3 separate regions of the Homo sapiens genome follow, and regions 1 and 2 are each linked to region 3. The links are contacts of gene promoters, found by promoter capture Hi-C in human tissues and cell types (Jung and others, 2019). All regions are on one chromosome and are shown on one strand. The core of a region is centred on a gene start or on the middle of the fragment in contact, and the rest is flanking DNA. Distances in the headings are between cores, read along the strand shown.

What was found. The method cuts DNA at HindIII sites, captures the fragments that hold promoters and counts their contacts. A contact is called where the count stands out against the background at its distance.
Region 1: a fragment that was not itself captured here is called in contact with the fragment with the promoter of ING5 in region 3 in 2 of the 25 tissues and cell types used here (lymphoblastoid cells and spleen).
Region 2: a contact is called between a fragment that was not itself captured here and the fragment with the promoter of ING5 in region 3, in 1 of the 25 tissues and cell types used here (spleen).

The regions. Positions count from the first base shown.
Region 1 is chr2:241,080,805-241,085,683 of GRCh38, reverse strand. It overlaps SNED1 (sushi, nidogen and EGF like domains 1), which reads right to left. Exons shown (of 32, transcript NM_001080437.3): 28 at 3,891-4,007; 29 at 3,320-3,407. It also overlaps a transcript of MTERF4 not described here. Among named protein-coding and RNA genes, the nearest start is that of MTERF4, 19 kb to the left of the region's middle. The HindIII fragment of the contact is 4,214 bases long and covers 1-3,647 here.
Region 2 is chr2:240,838,161-240,843,235 of GRCh38, reverse strand. No RefSeq gene overlaps it. Among named protein-coding and RNA genes, the nearest start is that of KIF1A, 20 kb to the right of the region's middle. RefSeq lists an enhancer at 3,543-4,043. The HindIII fragment of the contact is 4,124 bases long and covers 1-4,027 here.
Region 3 is chr2:241,700,648-241,705,285 of GRCh38, reverse strand. ING5 (inhibitor of growth family member 5) reads right to left here and starts at 3,247. Exons shown (of 8, transcript NM_032329.6): 1 at 3,184-3,247; 2 at 562-633. The coding sequence starts at 3,220. RefSeq lists enhancers at 2,129-2,758, 2,997-3,829 and silencers at 2,484-3,043, 3,228-3,391, 3,134-3,953. The HindIII fragment of the contact is 25,906 bases long and covers 1-4,638 here.

The DNA of each region.
Region 1 (4,879 bases), core at 291-2,790, 620 kb after region 3:
CATAAAACTTACAATGCCCAGCATCCAATAAAAAACTATAAGACATTCAAGAATCATTTGAATAATCAAAAAAGTGACCCATAACCTAGAGAAAAATAATCAAATAGAATAAGACCCAGACATGAGAGTGATGACAGAAATAGCAGATGAGGACCTTAAAATATCTATTATAAATTTGTTCCACATGTTCAGTGAGCTAAAGGAAAATATAAAGATAATGAAGATAGAAATTGGAGCATCTAAGAAACAACTAAATGAAACTTCTGGAGATGATAAAACACAGTATTAATAAAACTTTTGTTGAACAGGATTAATGGTAGATGCTGCAGAAGAAAAGATCAATGACCTTGAGTGCATAGCAATAGAATCTGTCCAAAATGAAAAGACTGAAAAAGTTGAGAAGAGCTGCAGTGACCTGTGGGACAATATCAGTCTAATACACGCATAACTGGAGTCCCAGAAGTAGAAGAAATGGAGGGACAGGAAAAATATATGAAGAAATAATGGCAAAAATTTTACGAAGTTTGACAAAATTAAAACCCAGAAATACAAGAAGCTTAAACTCCAGAGAATCAAAACGTAGCCATACCGAGAAGCACATCATAATTAAATTGTCCAAAAACAGTCATAAAGGGAAAACATAAAAGGGGCAGGAAGACACATTCCATACAGTGTAACACAGGTAAGAATGACTGCAGTCTTCTTGTCTGGAACTATGCAAGCCAGAAGACAAAGCCATGACAACTTTTAAGTCATGAAAGAAAAAAATATAACTGTCAATCAAGAAGTCTATATTCAGCAAATATATTCTTCAAAAATGAAGGTGAAAAAAAAATAGTTTCAGACAAAAGCAGAGAGAATTCATCTCCTGCAGACCTGTGCTATAGGAGATGTTAGAGTTAAGTTCTTATGGCAAAGAGAAATGATACCAGATGGAATCCTAGATCTACAAAAAGGAATGAAGAGTGCTGGAGTCGGCAGGCAGATGTACAATAAATACAAAATACTTTACTTTCAATATCTAAAACAAGATAATTTTTGAGTGCAAAAATAACGTATAGTGCAGTTCACAGCATATGTGGAAGGAAAAAGTCTGATAATAATTCAAAGGATGGGAGGGAAGTGGAAGCTTGATGTCAGCCGCTGCCATGGATACTGAAGTTGTCTACTAGTGATTAAAGGTATGCGGCGTGAAGTTGAAGATGTGTATGGTAAATCCTAGACACTGCTGGCCGGGCACAGTCACTCACGCCTGTAATCCCAGCACTTTGGGAGGGCAAGGTGGGTGGATCACCTGAGGTCATGAGTTTGAGACCAGCCTGGCCAACATGGTGAAACCCTGTCTCTACGTAAACTTTGTCTCTACTAAAAATACAAAAATTAGCAGGGTGTGGTGGCAGGCGCCTGTAATCCCAGCTACTCGGGGGGCTGAGGCAGGAGAATTGCTTGAACCCAGGAGGCAGAGGTTGCGATGAGCCAAGATCGCACCATCGCACTCCAGCCTGGGGGACAAGAGGGAGACTTTGTCTCAAAAAAAAAAAAAAAAAAATCCTAGACGCTGCCATCATATTGAACTCGTACAATAGTAATTAAGGGTACATTGTGTTAAGGTGAAGATGTGTATGGCAAATCCCAGAGCAACCTCTAAACAATAAACCTAAGAAGTATAACCAGTAAGCCCATAGTGGAGACAAAATGGAATCCTAAAAAGTAATCCAAAATTAGGCAGGAAAAAAGAAAAAAGGAACAAAAAGCAGGTGGGAAAAATAGAAAACAAATAGTAATATGGCAGTTTAAATCCAACCACATCAGCCATTATGTGGAAGGTAGTAAATGGTCTAAATACTCCAATAAAAACCAGACTGTCAGACTAGATATCCAGCAAGACCCACCTCTATGTTAAATACTAGAAAGTCACTTGAAATATGCAGATAGGTTAAAAGTGAAAGGATAGAATGCTTTCAGGAAGTGAAGGGTCTTCTTGTTGGATACTTGGTGGTCACCAGCAGGCACTGGTGTAACTAAGCACAGCGGGAAGATGGCAGATACTGTGGATTCGGACTCTCACTGCATAGAATCCGAATTCAGTGGGCTGTCAACACGGCTTCCCAAATCCCAACACAGATTAGTATCTCATATGTGTTCCTGCTACATATTACACCTGGCTTCATGTCCAAGCTCTAATGAAGCTTCTACCCTTGCCCGTCTACATCCCATTCTCCACAGAGCATCCAAAGTAGTGTAATCGAACATGTCACTCTTCTGCTCAGAACCCTTCAGTAGCTCCTCCCCATTTCATGCCGGACAAACACCAGAGTCCTTCTGTGGGTCTCCATGGCCCCGAGGGTTCCCTGTCCCTCACCTCTCACCACTCTCCACTTCTCCCCCAACATGCCAGGGACACTCCTGACTTGGGGCCCTGGTAACTGTCCTCTGGCTCTGGAATGTCCATCCCTCCTCCATGTCTGTTCAGCATCGCCCTCCCCAGGAGGCTGCCCTCTTGCTGCACCAGCCCTGCCCATCCCCAGCAGGCTCTCCTGGTCTCGTCCTGTCATCTCGTCCTTTTTCCCTTTGCACTCACCACCTGCCACACCACACACCACACTCTCACTGCTGTCTGTTGTCTGTCCCCTCATCTGCAATGAACGGGTCCTGAAGGCAGGGCTTTGGTCTGCTCTGTTCTGATGTGTGCTGAGTATCTAGAACAGTGCCCGGCACACAGCAGGTACTCAGTAAGTCATCTGTTGACTAAATGGACAGTGCCCGGCACACAGCAGGTGCTCAGTAAGTCATCTGTTGACTAAATGGACTGTGTGACCGACAGAGTCATAGAGTGTTAGCAAGAAAGGACCTAAGAGATGGGCTGGGCATCTCTCCCTCCACAGCCCATTTTGGAGATGGGGGGCCTAAGGCCACATCATGAGTTAATGGCAGAACTGGGGCCGGCATTCTCATGAGCTGTTTGTTTTTCCAGGGGGCTCTGAGGAAGAGAAGAGAGGAAGGTCACATCAGTTGGCTCTGCCATCCAGTGGGGACTGGGCTGATGTGTGGGAAGGAAGGCCTGGGGGCCTGGGGACCAGGAGCCTGCGTTCTTCTCAGCCCCTGCTCCTGAGCTGCATGGACTTGGGGCAGTTATTCGGTTTTTCTGCCTCAGCTGCCTAATTTGTGACATGGAGGGAATCGATGGTCAAAGCAAGTCCCTTCTGTGACTGCAGCCATCGTCCCTCCTCAGGGTTAGCTGGGTAGCTTTGAGACAGCACTTTGAGGAGTCAAGAACACACGACAAATGCGGTAAGGCGGAGGACAGAAACCAACTTACACGTGGTGACAGACGCCTCCCTCCCAGACTGGAAAGGCCTTTGTCTCGGAGAACAGCCTTGTGCAGGGGCGGGACACCTTTATACAGGCTGCGACAAAGAAGGGCAGTGGCTCACCAGGTGCTCCTGACGGCTCCTCCTGCCCCTCTTGAGAGGCCTTGCCCAAGGGAGAGGGCCCGGGGGTCCTTAGGCTGGCTTCCTCCAAGGCGGGATGGTGGGAGAGGGCCCGGGGGTCTGCAGCTGGCTTCCTCTAAGGCCGGGGTGGGTTGGTATTGTGGGGGTGGAGAGTCCCTTCTCCTGACACCGCTCTGGCTGGGTCAGGGAGCCCTCCGAAGCTGTGCCTCGCATGCTGTGGCTGTTCTGACCCCCGTGATGGGCAGCACCTCTCATCCTGGTGCTTGGGGCAGCAGCGCAGCCCCTGGGGGCTCAGGGGTCAGCCCCGTGCACCAGACTCCCTGTCTGGCACCTCATCGTTTGGAGGCTCCCGTGGCAAACCCAGCTGTGGCCCAGCAGTCCTAGGCTGAGGCACAGGCTGTGTTGGAAGGGGCGCCCTGAGGCCAAGCCCCGACTTACCGAGCTCGCAGCGTCTGCCTTTGAACCCTGGCCCGCAGTCACAGCTGTGGGCGTCTGCGCCCGGCACACAAGTGCCTCCGTTCTGACAGGGGTTTTCTGAACAGTTGCCAGGGACGTCTGGAAACAGAGGTCACGAGAGGTTAGTCACTGGAACCCCAGGACAGGCCTGCCTCATGGACATGTTGCTGTCCCTTCCTTGATGACCTGATGCAGGGTGGCCGTGCACTCCTCTGTGGTGTGCTGCGGTGGCCTCCCAAACGCCTCTGGGCCCTAGAGCGTGGTCCCAGTTCAGGTGTTGAGAGAGAGCAGAGGTGAGGAGACAGGCCGCAGTGTGCTCGGCCCTGACCTCATTACTGGAAGGAAGGAAGACAAACAAAAACAAGGAGGAGGAGAAGGAGGAGGGAGAGGGAGGGAGGAGCGGGGCCTTCAGTGCTGAGCCCCCACTGGCCTGTGGCCCCTCCCCACCCCGACCCTTGCTGGCTTTGCCCCTGAACACGGTTTCTGCTGCTTGGATCCTGAGGTCCCTCCTGGTGCTCTAATGGATGTGACTTACTGCTCACTTGATCCCACCCCTGTGTTTCCTGTGAACTCTCACTAGAGAGAGGTGCTTGATAGGATTTAGGTTCAGATGGTCTTTGCAGGGCTGCTGCCCAGGGATGCGTGTGCACCCCCAGCCAGCCCAGGCGGCCTGTGATGTGTCCAAGTCCCACTCGAGTGACACGAGGACTGGTCACTGGTCCAGTGCTGGCAGCCTGACCAACCCAGAAAAAAGTCCCCACGGGCCTTGCACCTGATGGCTCGAGCAAGACATCGAGATCCCTGATCCAAGGGCTGTCCTCTCACAGACCTGTGTCTGTCCCTGTCGCTCCTGCCCTCACCAGCTGGAGAGTGGTCTGTGAAGACAGGCTTTCCCTCACCTACCCCGTGGTCACCCTGGACTGGTCCACACAGGCACGGCAGCGTGAAGGCTCCACCCTGCTCCTTTGCTT
Region 2 (5,075 bases), core at 716-3,215, 860 kb after region 3:
CTTCACCCAGACTCATTCCGATCACCTGCTCCCCCGACTCATTCTGATTACCTGCTCCCCCTGACTCATTCCGATCACCTGCTCCCCCTGACTCATTCCAATCACCTGCTCCCCCGACTCATTCTGATTACCTACTTCACCCAGACTCATTCCGATCACCTGCTCCCCCTGACTCATTCCGATCACCTGCTCCCCCTGACTCATTCCAATCACCTGCTCCCCCGACTCATTCTGATTACCTACTTCACCCAGACTCATTCCGATCACCTGCTCCCCCCGACTCATTCTGATTACCTACTCCACCCTGACTCATTCTGATTACCTGCTCCCCCGACTCATTCTGATTACCTACTTCACCCAGACTCATTCCGATCACCTGCTCCCCCCGACTCATTCTGATTACCTACTCCACCCTGACTCATTCCGATCACCTGCTCCCCCGACTCATTCTGATTACCTACTTCACCCAGACTCATTCCGATCACCTGCTCCCCCGACTCATTCTGATTACCTGCTCCCCCTGACTCATTCCGATCACCTGCTCCCCCGACTCATTCTGATTACCTACTTCACCCAGACTCATTCCGATCACCTGCTCCCCCCGACTCATTCTGATTACCTATTCCACCCTGACTCATTCCGATCACCTGCTCCCCCCGACTCATTCTGATTACCTGCTCTGTCATAACCATTTTTCCCGCCAAAGCACTCACCCCATCACTCCTTTTAAATTAGCCGGTCAGAATTAGTTTAGCCTGTGCGGTCTAACCCTAGCCAGTAGCGGAACCACACAGCAGCAGGGGCCACATCCTTCAGGGTTAAGACCCGCTTCCCCTCCCTTGTCCAGGTGTGCGCTCACCATTGCTCCATCTCTAAGGGTACATCCTTCTATAGCAGTAACTTACCTTGCTGAGAATTAAAAATAAAATTTTATATTCGAGTGCTATTCCTTTTGCGGCACCAAACTTTATATATATAACGGGGTCTAGTCAGTTGGTTGAAAGGGCTTAGGACTTTATTCTTGGTTTACAAATCTCAAGGTGGTATAAAAACAGCAACTATCCTGCCTTTCTTTGAGTTCTTTTTTTTTTTTTTGAGAGGGGGTCTTGCTCTATCACCCAGGCTGGAGTGTAGTGGCGCCATCTAAGCTCACTGTAGCCGCCAACCCCCAGGCTCAAGTGATCCTCCCACTTCAGCCTCCCAAGTAGCTGGGACCACAGGCACGTGCCACCAAGCCCAGCTAATTTTTTTTTTTTTTTTTTGGTAGAGATGGGGTTTCACCCAGGCTGGTCTCAAACTCCTGAGCTTAAGCCATCCACCCACCTCAGCCTCCCAAAGTGCTAGGATTACAGGCATGAGCCACCGTGCCCAGCCTCTTTGAGTTCTATTTCCCTGACTCCTGTGTACATTAATAAATTTGTATGCCTTTTCTCCTGTTAATCTGCTTTCTGTCGGTTCATTTTTTCAGGGAAACTTCAGAGGGTGAAAGGAAAGATTTTCATTCTCCCTTACAACCCCAGTAGGCTTGAAGCCTAAGGCCTCACCTAATTCCTGGTGGGACAGGAGAGAGTGCTCTATGAAGGGTCACCCCAGGCAAAAGACCTCCCTTCCTCAGAACAGACCCCCGGATTCCTTTCCCCAAAGCCCAGCCCAGACCTTCACCTGGTAGCCCTGAGGGCCAGCTCCCAGCCCACATCCCTCAGGGCCCTAGGAATGTCCTAGCCCCTCCTGGGCTGCCCCCAGATCTGGTGCCTGTGGGTGGAGAGGTGTTCTGAGGTCACAGGCCTCCCGCTGACCTCTCCCCGCAGGGCTTCGAGTCCCTGAGACTGCAGATGTGGCCCAGGAGGCTGCAAGGAGGCTGGGAGATGGGGGGACCCTGAGAATAAGTTCATTCTTGCTGGCCCGACCAGGAGCACAGGCCACAGGCAGATCCTGGAAGGAAGTGGGCCCTCCCATGCCAGATCCATCAGGGAAGGGCCGAAACCAGAAGCCCAGCTGGGAAGCTGGATTCCTGTCCATCCTAGAAGCCCAGGAGTCATGGGAATGAGCCATCGGTGTGCCCTGTCCTCCACATTTTACAGAACTCAGCCAGTCCTTGCAGCCCCTTGAGGAAATTCTGTGTTATTTCCCGTTTACAGATGAGGAAACAGAGGCATGGAACAGGGAGTGACCTATCCAAGGGTCCCTCCTGTAAACGGAGAAGAGCAGCTGGGGAGGCTGGCCTGGAGGAGATGAGGCCAGCTGGACCCAGGCACCTATGTGGCTGCACTGATGGGGCTTCAGCTTTGAGGTGGGGCTCCCTGTGCTCAGCCCAGGGGGGCATGCCTCAGGAGCATGTGTCCAGGCACCCTGAGAAGAGGCGTGTTGGCCACCCAGCGACAGCTGGATCCTCCCGGGAAGGCCACACTTCTGTGGGCACCTGGGCCTGGGTGGGGACAGCCTCCCCCATGGGGAGGGGGCCTGGGCTGTGGATCCCGAGGCACACTCGCCCTGTTGGGAGCTCCTGTCTAACCTTTCCTGTCAGTTTTAGATGCATCCCTGGTTCTAATTCTTTTTCCCAGCAGGTGGCACTGGGGAGGCTGTTTGGAGCCCTCCAGGCCTGTGAGCTCAGGCCATGGATTGCTGGGATCCTTGTCCCCTGCTGACCAGCCCAGGGAACTCGCTGTCCATGGTGTCTGCAGCTCCCCCTTACGGGTCCACACAGGGTGTCCTCCATGGGTCACGACTGCCCCTGCTGTTGCCAGGATGCCTTCTCCACACCTCCCCACTCAATTTCTCCAGTCATGGCCCAGTGATTGCACCTGGGGCTGGGGGAGACAGAATTTGCCTGGAAGAGATGCTCAGTGTGGCCAGCTCACGGCCACCAAGCCCCACGTTTGCTCTCAGAGACAGCTTTGCACACAGCGGCATTGGCGGCATCTGGACTGGCCTCTTAGCTCCCCACACGTCCTCTTGAATAACAGAGGAAAAGGGAATTGATCCCCAAACTCCTTCCTCCAAGGTCAACTTCTCTTCTGCCAAGATCTAAGGAAAGCTTCCATCTCAGCTGCTCCTGCTGCTGGTTCTGTTTCTGCAGGTCATCTTCTGACCTTGAGTCTGAGTTAAGTCCCTTGCGTGCTGTGCTCCCTTGGATGGAAGCAGAACTGCAGACCCTTTGATGGAGCCTGAGTGGCAGAAGGGTCATCCGAGGTTGTGGCCTCTAAAAGACTCTCCAGTTTACAGATGGGGAAACTGAGGCTGGAGAGAGGGAGCCCTGCCCGGAGCCACACAGCTAGCATTGAGTAGACACTACCTGGGAACCGGACCCAGGTGTGCCCCCTCCTTACCAGGGTAGGAGCCGCCAGTGTGGGCTTCAGGGAAAGTCACTCTCTGGTGACCTGCACAGGAGCTGGGACCACAGAAGGGGACGAGGGGAGAGGGAGAGAGGGCTGCTCTATGCAGATGGCGCCTCTTTTTTCCCAGAAGCCACACTCCCCCTCACAGTGCGGGGCACTGGAGGTAATTCTGACCAGCGGCTCCGACTCAGGCTGAGCCCCAGGAACTCTGGGGTGCATTTAACAACACGGTGGCCAGCCCGGGTGCACCAGGTGCCCAGCCGCCTCTGAGAACCCCTGATGGAGACGAGGAGGCAGGGGCCCTGGGATCAGGAGATGTGTCCAGCTCAACCCTCAGTGCCTTCCTCTGAAAGTGCCATGGGGGCACTGCATAGGCTCGTGAATGTTAGCATCCTGGAACTCCAGGCCACACTGCGGTGAGGCACAGATCCAACATCAAACTTCAGCTGTGGGTGAGAGGCCTCCGGCTTGGGACTGACTCTGAGTCATCCAACCGTATGCACACATGGGCTATCCCCGCCGATGGCTGCCCTGCACGGTCAGGGATGGTGTCACCAGCCAGCACCCATCTGCAGCACGCAGGCTCGGGGAGGGGGAGCTGCCTCTGATCAGGCTTCGCTGCAGGGCCTGGCTTTTCTGCTCAGCTGGCCTCCAGTCTCCAGCCGCGCCTGGGCCCCTGCTGGCCGAGGGTGTCCCGCATCCATCAGACAAAGCCAACCCTGGCCATGGGCCTCCATGTGGGTGAGGCATTGGGAAAGAGCTGGTTCTCGCTGATTTACCCACTCACCCACTTGCTCCGGAGTTTCTGTTCTTAGGTTAGGTTTTAGTCCACTGGGCTTGTGCATGGAGCAGGGAGGGTTCCTGACTTTCCCTCTCCAGAGATCCTTCACCCAAGTGCAGCTGAGAAGGTTGAGCCTTTCCCCTACTAGTTTGAAATCCCGCCCTTAGCATGTGCTACCTCTATCATTTATCTTTTTGTTGGTTCCCTTGCCAATATTGAGTTGTTTTAATTATTATGGCCTTAAAGTTGTTAGGTTGATTTGCCATAGCATAGGTAAGACTCCTCTAGTAATTTCTCTTTGACTTGCTTCAATTTTCTTCTCATTATGCACCTTTTTTTTTTTTTGTCAGAATCTTGCTCTGTTGCCCAGGCTGGAGTGCAATGGCACAATCTCAGCTCACTGCAACCTCCGCCTCCCAAGTTCAAGCGATTCTCTGCCTCAGCCTCCCGAGCAGCTGGGATTACAGGCATGTGCCACCACGCCTGGCTAATTTTTATATTTTTAGTAGAGATGGGGTTTGGCCAGGTTGGCCAGGCTGGTCTTGAACTCTTCACCTCAGGTGATCCATCCTCCTCGGCCTCCCAAAGTGCTAGGATTACAGGTGTGAGCCACTGCACCCAGCTGTATCGATGTTACTTAGATTTTCACTTTTTGTATATGTATTTAATTTTAAATATTTTGTTTCTATAGTTATATCCTCTTGTCATTTTCAAAGAACCAATCCTTTTTTTTCCTAAGTCTAATTTGTGTTTATTTTCTATTTCATGACTTGGGGTTTTGCCTTAATCCCTTTATCCTGCCCTGTTGAATCGTGTTGTTGATGTTCATTGTCTAGATTCTGAGGTTGAACATAGAGGCCAATCATTTCCAACCTTTCCTGAATTCGTATCAATGCCTTTAAGCTTGAACTTCCCTCTCACAGCACAGCGGCTGCATCCCCTTGGTTTTGATAAAGAGC
Region 3 (4,638 bases), core at 1,998-4,497:
TAACACGGTGAAACCCCGTCTCTACTAAAAATACAAAAAAAAAATTAGCCAGGCGTGGTGGCGGGCACCTGTAGTCCCAGCTACTCAGGAGGCTGAGGCAAGAGAATGGTGTGAACCCAGGAGGCAGAGCTTGCAGTGAGCTGAGATCACGTCACTGCACTCCGGACTGGGCGACAAAGCAAGACTCCGTCTCAAAAAAAAAGAAACGGAGTTAAATATCAAACGGCCAAAAAGTACTACCAAACTTTTAAAACAATGCACGCACTACACACTTTGAAAATTGAAAATATTTAAAAGAAAAAATTGGCAATAAATATTTTGATTGGAAAGGGTGATGGTTATAAAAACATGATATAAAGATGTGTAAGAACCCAAGAAACAATGTGGCTTCAAAAGTATCAACACCTACTGCAAGACACTGAGTGATACCCACGGCCCAGGGCTAGGCCAATGCCCCACTAACCTGGGTCCCCTCAAAACCCTCTGCCCCCAGCCTTCAGGAGCTGCTGGCTCCCACCTGTCAGAACTCAGTTCTGGTTGTATGGAGAGGTCTGAACCCACCTTCCGTCCTCTGGTCCAGCTCTCGCATCAGCTGGAAGTTCCTCTGAAGTTCGCAGGGAAGGTTCTCGATACCTGAAACGCAAAAACACAGAAGCCATGTACCTCTCAGCAGCAAGACAAAAATTCACCTCCAAAGGTTTTCTGTCTTTTTTTTTTGAGATGGAGTTTCACTCTTGTTGCCCAGGCTGGAGTGCAGTGGTGCGATCTTGGCTCACTGCAACCTACACCTCCCAGGTTCAAGTGATTCTCACGCCTCCGCCTCCTGAGTAGCTGGGATTACAGGCACATGCCACCATGCCCGGCTAGTTTTTGTATTTTTAGTTGAGACGGGGTTTCACAAGGTTGGCCAGGCTTGTCTCGAACTCCTGACCTCAGGTGATCCGCCCACCTCGGCCTCTCAAAGTGCTGGGATTACAGGTGTGAGCCACCAGGACTGGCCAAAAGTTTTATACTTCAAGTCTACAAGCCCACTCTGTATTCTGTCTCTGTCAGGGTTTGCGGAGCGGAAGGACTGTGATCTCATTTTTAGATGCAGGTACCAAACAGTGCTGACAAGAGGCTGTGTGCACACTTCGGAAGCTGTCAGAAGTCAAAGAAGGGAGAGGGAAACTTGGAAACCAACAGCACAGGCAGGGGAGGCCAACTGACCCCACCCTCTAGGCTGCCCCCCCTCAGTGAGCAGCATCTTCCAAGGCTCAAGCCAAAATCCCCTGGGTCCTCCTTGATCTTCCCCTACTTTACCCAGAAATCCAGTGCATTGAGCAGTGTAGCCACGCTGCCCACGCGACTTTATGCAAGGATAGAAATGTTTCCTCTCTCGGATGGGCGTGGTGGCTCATACCTGTAATCCCAGCACTTTGGGAGATCAAGACAGGCAAATCAGTTGAGGTCAGGAGTTCAAGACCAGCCTGGCCAACATGGTGAAACCCTGTCTCTACTAAAAATACAAAAATTATCCAGGCGTGGTGGTGCACAGCTACAGTCCCAGCTACTCGAGAGGCTAGGGCATGAGAATTGCTTGAACCTGGGAGGTGGAGGTTGCAGTGTGCTGAGATCATACCCTCCAACCTGGGCAACAGGGTGAGACTCCATTTCAAAAAAAATCAAAAAAAGAAAAAGAAAAGAAATGTTCTCTCTGAGCTGCCCAAGACAGTGGTGGCCATAGGGAGCTACTGAGCACTGGAAATGGGACTAACGCCATTCAATTTTTAATTTTACTTAAATAGTCCCTGTGGCTAGCGCAACCATTCCCCACAGTCTGCCAGGAGGACCCCCGTGCTGCTTTCGCGTCTGCTTTGTTACCCCCTAGACCAGGCCAACCTCCGCCCCCTGCACAGCTGACACAGGCTCCTAAGGGGGGCTGCCTCCTCCAGTCTTGGCCACCCTCCCATCTGCTGTTCACAGTTACCAGGCAATCATTTTAAACCTAACTCTATCTTATGCATCTGATGCTTCCAGCCCCAGTGTTTTCCCAGCTCCCCTAGAGGACAGAGGCACAGCCTCCCGGCTGGCACAGCCTCCCAGACACACACAAAGTCAACCCTCCTTGGGAGGCCAGCCCACTGGCTGGGCACCAGGATAGAGAAGGCCTCCCCTCCAGCGTGCTCCCCAGCTTGACTCTTCTACCCAGGGAACCCCCCACTACTCAGACCCCCAAGAGACAGCGGAGCACATGGGCAGAATCGGGCGTCCCTCTAGGGCAGCGGTCTCCAGCTCCAGGCCACGGCTCACTCGCCACTGTCTCAGCCCCTGGGCGGGTGCCAGGCCGAAGACCATGAGGATCCCCAGTGCAGCGCCCCCACAAGGGCCCTCCAGAGCCACCCGGCACAACCCCAAACACCGCGACCCCAAAGCTGTGCCCATCCCGGGCCGACGTCAGGGGTCCCGCGTGGGGTCTGCCCCTCTACGAGCGGGAGACCCTGAGCAGGCTGCTCGGCAGCGCTGGACCTTCCCTGGTGTGTAAAGTGAGGGAAAGCACCGTCCGCTCAGCCGCTGGGGGCGCCGACCTGCTGCCACCTGGAAACAGCACAGCCCGCCCACCAGGGCCGACTCGGCACCGCCCTCCCCGCCTCCGCGCCGCAGTCCCCAGTGCCGGGGAGAGACGCCCCGCGGCCCGCACGCCCTCCCCAGCCGCGGTCACACAAGAGGCCGGCGCACACGGGCGCACAGCCAGGCGGAGGCCCAGACCCCGGAGCCCCCAAGGCCCGGAGCCCCGCAGCGGGCGCCAGCTCCTCCTGCAGACGGGACAGGGACGGGCGGGACCTGGCGGGGCCGGGGCCGGAGCTGGGGGCGGAGATGAGGCGGGGCCTGGGTAGGGGCGGGACCTAATATGTGGGCGGGGTCGAGGCCGCAAGCCCCGCCCAGCATCGCCAGGCCCCGCCCCGCCGTGACGCACCTGGAATTGGCGCGACCCAGCCGGCGGGACCCCCCGCGCCCGCCCCCCGCGCCCTCCCCTCCCTTGCGGCCCTGCCCCGCCCCGTCCGCGCGCCCCCCGTCGCGCCCGGCCGCGCCCGCCGCCCTCCCGAGCCCACGGGGTCTGCATGCGGTGCCCGGCGCGCGGGGGGCTGCGGCACGGAGGACTCCGCGTGGGCGGCGGGCGCGGGGCCCGTGGGGCGCGCTTACTGTCCAGATAGTGCTCCAAGTACATGGCGGTCGCCATCTTCGTCCGCGGCCGCGCTCGGGGTCTGCGCGGGCGGGCGGTGCCGCGGGAGGCGGGGGCGGGGCGGTGCCAGCGCGCTCACTATTCATGAGTCGCGCGCGCTGATTGGTCGCGCCCGGGGGCGGGGTCGGACACGCCTTTCAGCTTCCGGCGGGCGGCGGGCTGCGGGGCCCGGGCGGAGGTTGTGGCAGCGGCGTCGGGCAGCGAGCAGGACCCAGGGCCGCAGCGGATCGGAGGCCGAGGAGGAGCAGGGGTTCCCGGCCCCACCGCCCGGCGTGCGGCCCAGGGCACCCAGGTGGGCGTCTCCCCTCCGCACCTGTCAGCGACCCCTGGGCCACCAAACGCAAACACGTGGTCCCGGGGACCTCACGCCCGTCCTGACGGCGCCCACGCGACCCCTGCTCCCGGCCGGGTCCCGGACAGGCCGCCACGAGGCCCTCCCTTCCCGAAGGCTCCTTGGGACCTGTCTGGCTCAGCGCCTTTCCCCCGGACCCCGAGCCCCCGGGGCCTCAGCCCGGCCTGAGCCGAGGGCCGGCACCGCGTGGCCCGGGCGAGCTGCCCCTCCCTCAGGGCCTGGGCCCTGGCGCCCTTCCCCCGCCAACGCCGCCCCTTCCCTCCGAGGAAAGCGGCCGCCCCGCCCAGCACCAGTGAGGGCACTGGCTCCTTTGCTGCCACCTCTCGAGGCAGGCAGGACCCGCACCATCTGGATGCCTTGGCCGAAAAGGCACGTGCGGCAGTATGATATAGTTAATAAGATGGCGTGCAAAGGTGTGCCGTAAGATGCATGCAAAAATACTGGAGAAGGCCGGCGCGCTGGCGCACGCCTGTAATCCCATCACTTTGGGAGGCCGAGGCGGGCGGATCACTTGAGGGCAGGAATTTGAGACCAGCCTGGCCAACGTGTTGAAACCCCGACTCTACTAAAAATACAAAAAAAAAAAAAAATTAGCCAAGCGTGGTGGCGCACGCCTGTAGTCCCAGCTACTCCGGAGGCTGAGCCCGGGAGGCGGAGGTTGTAGTGAGCTGAGATCGCGTCTGCACTCCAGCCTGGGCGACAGAGCAAGACTCTGTCTTCAAAAAAAAAAAAGAAAATTTTAAGAAAAAAAAAATACTGGAGAAACATAATTAAAATATGTTTCAGACTCGGCACGGTGGCTCACGCCTGTAATCCCAACACTTTGGGAGGCCGAGGCGGGCGGATCACTTGAGGGCAGGAATTTGAGACCAGCCTGGCCAACGTGGCGAAATCATGTCTCTACTAAAAATACAAAAATTACCCGGGCGTGGTGGCGGGCGCCTGTACTCCCAGCTACTCGGAGACTGAGGCAGGAAAATTACTTGAACTTGGGAGAGGGAGGTTGCAGTGAGAAGAGATCATGTAACTGCACTGCAGCTTGGGTGACAAGAGCAAGACTCCG